2 separate regions of the Homo sapiens genome follow, and region 1 is linked to region 2. Evidence: promoter capture Hi-C in human tissues and cell types (Jung and others, 2019). All regions are on one chromosome and are shown on one strand. Each heading gives the region's core, a stretch centred on a gene start or on the middle of the fragment in contact. The rest is flanking DNA. Distances are from core to core; before and after follow the strand shown.

The links. Contacts are between HindIII fragments. The study calls those that stand out against the background at their distance.
Region 1: a contact is called between a fragment that was not itself captured here and the fragment with the promoter of SAMD10 in region 2, in 1 of the 25 tissues and cell types used here (heart right ventricle).

Annotation. Positions count from the first base shown.
Region 1 is chr20:64,119,262-64,124,447 of GRCh38, reverse strand. No RefSeq gene overlaps it. Among named protein-coding and RNA genes, the nearest start is that of NPBWR2, 14 kb to the right of the region's middle. RefSeq lists enhancers at 135-1,334, 3,738-4,032, 3,701-4,200. The HindIII fragment of the contact is 5,841 bases long and covers 1-5,186 here.
Region 2 is chr20:63,977,649-63,980,891 of GRCh38, reverse strand. It overlaps SAMD10 (sterile alpha motif domain containing 10), which reads left to right and starts at 1,250. Exons shown (of 5, transcript NM_080621.5): 1 at 1,250-1,515. The coding sequence starts at 1,425. RefSeq lists enhancers at 646-705, 1,301-1,816, 1,802-2,096 and a silencer at 1,136-1,455. The HindIII fragment of the contact is 26,934 bases long and covers 1-3,243 here.

The DNA.
Region 1 (5,186 bases), core at 1,113-3,612, 140 kb before region 2:
ATTGATTTCTGTCTTTGCCTGTAACTCCTGCCTCTCTGAAAACTATGAAACCAAAGTATAATCTGACTGCTGGGGGCACACTTTCTCAGGACCTCTCAAAACTGTGTTCTCCAGGCTTTCTCAGGAAACTCGAAACTGTGTTCTCCAGGCTTTCTCAGGACCTCTCGAAACTATGTTCTCCAGGCTTTCTCAGGAAACTCAAAACTGTGTTCTCCAGGCTTTCCCAGGACCTCTCGAAACTGTGTTCTCCAGGCTTTCTCAGGAAACTCGAAACTGTGTTCTCCAGGCTTTCCCAGGACCTCTTGAAACTGTGTTCTCCAGGCTTTCCCAGGACCTCTCGAAACTGTGTTCTCCAGGCTTTCCCAGGACCTCTCGAAACTATGTTCTCCAGGCTTTCCCAGGACCTCTCGAAACTGTGTTCTCCAGGCTTTCTCAGGAAACTCGAAACCATGTTCTCCAGGCTTTCTCAGGAAACTCGAAACTGTGTTCTCCAGGCTTTCCCAGGACCTCTTGAAACTGTGTTCTCCAGGCTTTCCCAGGACCTCTCGAAACTGTGTTCTCCAGGCTTTCTCAGGACCTCTCGAAACTATGTTCTCCAGGCTTTCCCAGGAAACTCGAAACTGTGTTCTCCAGGCTTTCTCAGGACCTCTCGAAACTGTGTTCTCCAGGCTTTCTCAGGACCTCTCGAAACTGTTCTCCAGGCTTTCTCAGGAAACTTGAAACTGTGTTCTCCAGGCTTTCCCAGAACCTCTCGAAACCATGTTCTCCAGGCTTTCTCAGGACCTCTCAAAACCGTGTTCTCCAGGCTTTCTCAGGACCTCTCGAAACCGTGTTCTCCAGGCTTTCCCAGGACCTCTCGAAACTGTGTTCTCCAGGCTTTCTCAGGAAACTCAAAACTGTGTTCTCCAGGCTTTCTCAGGACCTCTCGAAACCGTGTTCTCCAGGCTTTCCCAGGACCTCTCGAAACTGTGTTCTCCAGGCTTTCTCAGGACCTCTCGAAACTGTTCTCCAGGCTTTCTCAGGAAACTCGAAACTGTGTTCTCCAGGCTTTCCCAGGACCTCTCGAAACCATGTTCTCCAGGCTTTCTCAGGACCTCTCGAAACCGTGTTCTCCAGGCTTTCTCAGGACCTCTCGAAATCGTGTTCTCCAGGCTTTCTCAGGACCTCTCGAAACCGTGTTCTCCAGGCTTTCCCAGGAGCTCTCGAAACCGTGTTCTCCAGGCTTTCTCAGCACCTCTCGAAACTGTGTTCTCCAGGCTTTCTAAGGAAACTCAAAACTGTGTTCTCCAGGCTTTCTCAGGACCTCTCGAAACTGTTCTCCAGGCTTTCTCAGGAAACTCGAAACTGTGTTCTCCAGGCTTTCTCAGAACCTCTCGAAACTGTTTTCTCCAGGCCATGGTCATTCATATTGACTCAGAATAAACCTCTTTAAAATATTTTACAGAATCTGTTTTTTTCCATTAACGTTATTGAGTTTTGAGAGTTCTTGATATACTCTGGATACAAGTCCTTTATCAAATATGTGATTTGCAAAAATTGTCTTACAGCCTTGGGCTTGTCTTTTCATTTTCTTAGCAGTGTCTTTGGAATAGCAGAAGTTCTTAGTTTTGATGAAACATCTTATTTATTTGATGGATTATGTTTTGATATCCTATCTAATAATGTTTTGCCTGATCTAAGTTTGCAAAGGTTTTCTTCTATGTCCTCTTATAGAAGTTTTATAATTTTAGCTTTTACATTTAGGTTTATGATCCATATTGACAATATTTTAATATAGTACAAGGTATGGATCAAAGTTCATTTTTTTGCATATGGATATCCAACTGTTTAGCATCATTTACTGAGAACAAAACTTGCCTTTATTGAATTGCCTTTGCAGCTTTGTTGAAAATCACTTGCTCATATTTGTGGGTCTATTTCTGGTATCTCTAATTTGTTCTATTGATCTGTCTATCTTGATGCAAATACCACACTGTCTTTTTTTAAAATATTATTTCTTTTATCATGATACTTCTCTTTCTTCTTTCTTTTTTTTTTTTTTTTTGACAGTGTCTCACTCCGTCACCCAGGCTGGAGTGCAGTAGTGAGATCTCAGCTCACTGCAACCTCCGCCTCCCAGGATCAAGTGATTCTCGTGCCTCAGCCTCCTGAGTAGCTGGAATTACAGGTGTGTGCCACCACGCCTGGCTACATTTTTTGTATTTTTAGTAGAGACGGGGTTTCACCATGTTGGCCAGGCTGATCTCAAACTCCTGACCTCAAGTGATCCACCCACCTCAGCCTCCCCAGGAGCTGAGAACTCTGGCAGGGAGACTCTGTGGTGTAGGAACCCCAGGTCTCCAGCCATGTCTGAAAAACAGTGTTAACCCACGGCTTCACCCCAGCTTTGAAACACCTGGGTGTTCTTCAGAAATACCTGCTATAGTTTGGACGTTTGTCCCCGAACCTCATGTTGAAATTTAATCCCCGATGTTGGAGGCGGGGCCTGGTGGGAGGTGTTCGGGTCATAGGGAAGGATCCAGAATGAATGGTTTAGTGCCCTCCTCATGGTGATGAGTGAGTTCTTGCTCTATTAGTTCCCACACGAGCTGGTTGTTTTAAAAAAATCCTGGCATCGCCCCTCTCTCTCGCCTCTTCTCTTACCATGAGACACCTCCCGCCATGAGTGCACGCTCCCTGAGGCCTCCCCAGAAGCAGGTGCCGGCACCGTGCTTCCCGTACACCCTGCAGAACCGTGAGCCAAACAAACCTCTTTTCTTTATAATGGCCCAGCCTCTATCCTTCTCCTCACCTAGGAAAAAGAAAAAGAAATTACCCAGCCTCAGATATTCCTTCATAGCAACACAAAACTAGGACAACACTGGTGCCCAGGCCCCAGCCCAGACCAAGCACATCAGAGCCTGGGCATGGGGGTGGAACCAGCTCCAGTGAGCTCCTGAAGTCCCCAGGGGATTCTGTGCACATCCAGGGTGGAGAACTTGGCCGTAGACAGTCCAGACAAAAATATTCTTTATACGATTAGCACAGAGTTGTTGTTTAAACTCAGTGGTAAGAACAGAACACAAGAGTTTTAACAGGAGTCATAGTTTTCACCATTAAGAATCTTTACCTACTATTGGAATCCAGGTACACACATTTACCCTGGGGTTTAATTTGCTGTGTAAAATTGACTTGGTTCTTTTACAAATTGCTGGCAAGTTGAGGTTGGGGCCACCACAAAACAAGTCTCTAGCAAGACAAAGAGCATAGTTGTGTGTTTGGGTCTCTCCACACCAGAATGGAGCTCCTTGTGGGCAGAGGCTGGCTTGCCCCTTGTCTTAGTCTGTTTCCTGCTGCTTATAACAGAAACTGGGTAATTTAAAAGAAACAAAATGTATTTCTTACAGTTCTGCGGGCTGGGAAGTCCAAGGTCAATGGGCCACATCTGGTGAGGTTTTCTTGCTGGTGGGAACCCCAGAGTCCCAAGGCAGTGCAGGGCGTCGCATGGTGAGGGGCTGAGCGTGCTGGCTCAGGTCTCTCTCTTCTTATAAAGCTACTAGCCCCACTCCTATGATAACCCATTAATCTATAAATAAATTAATCTATTCATGAGGGCAGAGCTCTTGTGACCCAATCACCTCTTAAAGGCCCCACCTCTCAATACTGCCACATTGGGGATTAAATTCCAACTTGAGTTTTGGAGGTGACAAATATTCAAACCACAGCATCCTTAAATCATCAGAGACTGGCCTGCCTGCCCCCATGTCCACTCGAAAATGAATGCCGCGCAAGCCCCCACCCCCACCCTACTGAATGGTCCCTTTTCCTCTGCAGCAGTTCTCGGAACTGGCCACTGGGGGTCAGGGTTGGTCCGCGTCGCACAGAACCTGGCTCAGCCAGGAGCCACAGGAAGGACCCTGTTCCTCTACCCCAGCCAAGGGAAAACGGCGGCCCCTCTGTGGTTCAGCAGAGCTAGTCCAGGAACAGTGGGGCTTCAAAGTGCTTCCCCTCCATGGCAGAGCCAGCGCTGGCCTGCTGGTCTCCCAATTCTTTGCCCAGGCTAAGAAGGGCGCACACACACACACACACACACACACACACACACACACTCTCTCTCTCTCTCTCTCTCTCTCTCTCTCTACCTCCGGGAAGTTCTCCCTGCCTGTGGCTTGCAGCTTGCTGCCGCTCACCAGCCTCCCGTCCTACTCACAGCTGACTTGAGGTCAGTGCTCCCTCCAAGCATCCACCTGAGCTGCCCAGGCCCAAGGCCGAAACCCCAGACCAGGTCCAGAGCAGCACGGGCAGGTGGGACCTCAGATGGGGCTGGCCCAACACGTGCAAGCCTCCAGCCTGAGGCAGGAAAATTACGATCCCCATTTGACAAGTGAGGAGACAGAGGCTCAGAGAGGTTGGGTAACTCACCCTGGGCCACACAGCAAGGAAAAAGCCAGTCCCAGACCTGTACTCCTGACCTCCACCTGGTCTGCTCCCCTCAGGAGACTATCTAGGCCACAGTGGCACCCTTGACTGGCCTGAGTTGGGAGCACAGGTCCACAGGGCTCTTTACCCGGTTCCACGGCAACAGTCCCCAGGCCACATACCTATGAGCACAGTTTGGACAGTGGAGCAGTCTCTGGCCCGACCACAGGCAGCACCCCAGGAACTCCACGTGCCTTCGGGGTGCACTCAAGTGGGTGGGGAAGAGGGGCCTAGAGCTCCACCTCAGCCTCCTTTGTCCTGAGTGAGCAGGGCCCCACTCACCTCCCCGAGCAGCCAGAGATGTGACGGAGCCTCTGTGGGCAGAAAACATCTCCCAGGTGATAAGCAGCAGGTATGAGGTCTCCCTGGTGAGAGTGTGAGCTCCCCACATTCAACACTGCCGGAGCCCTGAGAGGAAGCCACAGGCTCTGGGAAGCTCCGTGCGGAAGCTGAGTGCCCTGTTGCTCCACGGTTAGCAAGCACGCTCCAGGGAAACTCCATCAGAGCCTCCTGTTCCCATCTGCTAGATGGGATGACAGTAGTACTGCCCCTGGCCATTGTGGAGACAAAATGAAACACGGATGTATCTTTAGCTGTCAGCACCCGGCACATAGGAGGCATTCAGAACCAGAGACAGACCAGGAGGAGGCTCAGATCCCAGGAGTCGGCAAAGGTGGAGATGGAAGGAAGTGAGGTGGGATGGGGCCCAGCCATGCTGGAGGAACTGG
Region 2 (3,243 bases), core at 1-2,500:
CTGCTTCCCGAGTGCTCTGATGCAGTCCGGAGACCTGTCTGTGAGAGTGGGACCCATGGTCCCCTCCCTCTGAACCCATGGCCCCCTCCCTCTGAACCAGCCCAGCTGCCCGCCCTCGCCCCTGGTGCGCCCTGTCCGAGCAGAGCTGTACCCTGTCCAGTTGTGTAGAGCTTGTGTGTACTGGTTATGGGCACACCTGTCTGTGTGCGTCCTGTGCGCACACTGCTGCCCTACGCTTTTAGCACTCATATTCTTGAACCCCCATTCAGGCATCTGTCCCTCCAGTGGGACTAGAGACCCCACCCACGCCCGCCAACATGCCTTGGACATTCTGGTGAGGGCCACATCCTTAGCTCCTGGAGAGCTAATTGACGAAATAAATAACCGCAGCTGAGCTGTCGGGAACACGTCAGTACATGAACATGGCTGTCAAGCATGTGGGTGAATTCTGTGTGTGTGATTAGTGGGGTGTGTGCACAGAGGTCACGTGTGCTCGTGTTTTGGGTGCAAGTGCATGACTGTACTCTGTGCATGCATTTCTACATGTCTGTGTGCATCTCTGGTCCTCCTGCTGTAAGACATCCTCCAGAGCCCCTACATACACCCAGGGAGAGCACCCAGGCTCCTGGGCAGAGCAAGCCGAATAGCTGGTTGCAAGCCTGGCCTGCTGCTGCACCAGGCAACCACAGTTCCCTAGCCCAGCCCCATCTCAGCACTTCTCACTGGAGTCCTGGAGCAAACACACCGCTCCGGCCTGCTACAGCCTCCTTGGAGTTCCCCTCTGCCCCATCTCCAGGCAAGCCAAGCCCCTTTCAGTTACAGAGCACTGTACCGCCCCCTCTCCCCCGGGCACTGAGCCAGGTTCTGGGGCTGCAGAGGGAAGGGAGAACCACCCTGATGTTCACAGTGGGGTGGGCGGTAAGCAAGAGTCAAGCTGGTTTCTCCGGGGAAGCGGGTGCCTATTTGAAGGCGAGTAAAGACGTAGGAGACCGAGGAAAGTGTGTGGGAGGCGTTGACCTGCCCCTTGTCCTGGCCCCGGTAGGTAGAAGACCCCTGTGAGATGCCCCTCAGCCCACCCCCACGCACAGAGGGGCCCGACCTCAGAGGACGCCCGGCAGGTTCACGGGGACTCTCCTCCGCGGAGCCGTGCCCAGGGGCGCACGGACGCCCCTCGCCCTGGCGGACAGCCTTGGTGCACGCAGGCCCGCGCGCCGCCGACACACCTCGGAGCTCCCGGAGCGCGCCCGGCACACAGGGCTCGGCGGCAGGTGCCTCGTCGCGCACACTCGCGGGCCGCGGGGACCGGCTCGGGCGCGGGGCCGGCTGGGGCGGGGCGGGGCGGCGGCGCGCGTTCCCCGCCGGCCACACCGGCCGCCCTGCACTCGGCGAGGGGCGTGTGCGCGGGCCTGGCACCCGCGGGCCCCATGTTCACCGAGCTGAGGTCCAAGCTGAGCCCCCCGCGTGGCCGCGCCGGGGCCGTGCGCGCGGGCTTCGGGGAGCGCCGGGATGTGGACGGTGAGCGGGGCTGGATTGGGGAGCGGGGATTTCTCGGGCGGGGGTCTCAGGGACCCAGAGGCACGGGGGCGGGGCGGGACCCGGCGGGCTTCGAGCGGCGGTGGCTGGGGGTATTCGGCGGATGTCTCGGCTCAACGGGGTCCCGTAGCCTTTGTCCTGCTTTAGGGGGCAGCCAGCCTCAGGCCTTGGGGGTCAGCGCGCCCTTGGCTTGGGGTGAGGGGGTGTCAAGCCGGGGCGCCTGTGTCCAGGCTGGCACTACGCTCGGGTCACCTTTTCCTGCGCACGGGGAAAACCCTCCCCCGCTTTTGCAGTGGGGCCGAAAGGGGGCCGAGGTCACATCCCGCCTCGGTGCCCCCGCCCCATTTCCTTCTGGAATCCTGACGTTGGGGCGGGAGGGACCGGACCGACAGACCGCGGGACGGACGGAACTCCCTCCGGGAGTGCAGGCAGGAAATGGGCGGAGCCTGCTTGGCCGGGGCAGGTGCCGTGCGGGCTGAGGAGTCCGACGGGTTTCCCCGGACTGCCGCGCGCTTCTGCACCAGCCCCGCCGCTCGAGGCCCTGCAAAGCCCGGCGACCACGGCGCCTGTCCGCTGGAAGGCGCGGGCTTAGAATAAGCCTTTTCCCACAGCACTAGGGGCCACCTCGGGGCGGTGGCCCACTGAGCACACCCTCTGCTGACCCCAGACCTCAAATTTGGAGTCACCCAGGGGTCCGGTTCCTGAAAGTTGCAAGAATGGGGGCGGAAGGTGTTATGTCTCCTAAGTCTTACAGGCGTGGGAGGACGGGGAAGTAGGATGTGGTTTTCACCGATACTTAGACCTCCTAGACACATCCCCAACCCCTGCCCTGGGTGTGGAGTGGGTGGCTGAGTCTGAGGCCGGGAGGGTCTCTCACTCTAGGGTGGATGGGATGAGGGCCCTAGCGTGGGAACCTCACCTGCCCTGCTGAAGGCCTGGGTGCTAGGGTGCTGTAAAGACAGGGGCAGGCCTGTGCCCACCTTCTGTCTCCCCACAGGCTCTGTTCACTTGCAGATACCATACAGAGCCTTCATTCATTCATTCATTGACAATGAATGTGGGGTGCCCCTCTGTAACCAGACCTGGATCAAGACGCCTGCCTCCCCAGACTCAGGTCAGCAGTGCCCCCAGAGATGATGACAAAGCTCAGATGAAACACTTTAATGCAGTTACTGTGGGAAGAGGGAGCACAGAGCATCACCGTGGGTCCCCAAGCAATGGCTGCACCCCACATACCTGTGCTGACCCGCCCATATCCAATGGGTACCCACCATTCACATGGCCGGTGTTGTCCCGGGCTGCAGGCCCTGTGGGGGGCGGCACAGCTGGAGAGCCCAGCGCGTGTTTGCGGAGTGAGCCCTGCTTGTCAGTTGGCCCACAGTTCAGGCTGTCAATGAGTCATAGTCAGTGAGTCGGGCCCCAACACCAGATAGGGCTGTGTGAACTGGGTGCCTTCAGTGGCGATGGGCAAGCAGCATCCTCAGCCCGGTTTCCCCAGCACAGACGACCTCCCCGGACTCGGGATCTGCCTTTCCTCAAAGCAGGCCGTGTGTGCACTTCCTGGTCTGGTGTGGTGTGTGCAAGACTTGTGGGCCAGCCCAAGGCAAGGGTGAGGTCAGGGCTGTCCCAGGATAGCTCCTCTTGTCATATGTCTCAGGTTCCCTTCCCTAGAGGGCACATCCTCTGATCTAAGAATCCATCCTGCTCCCC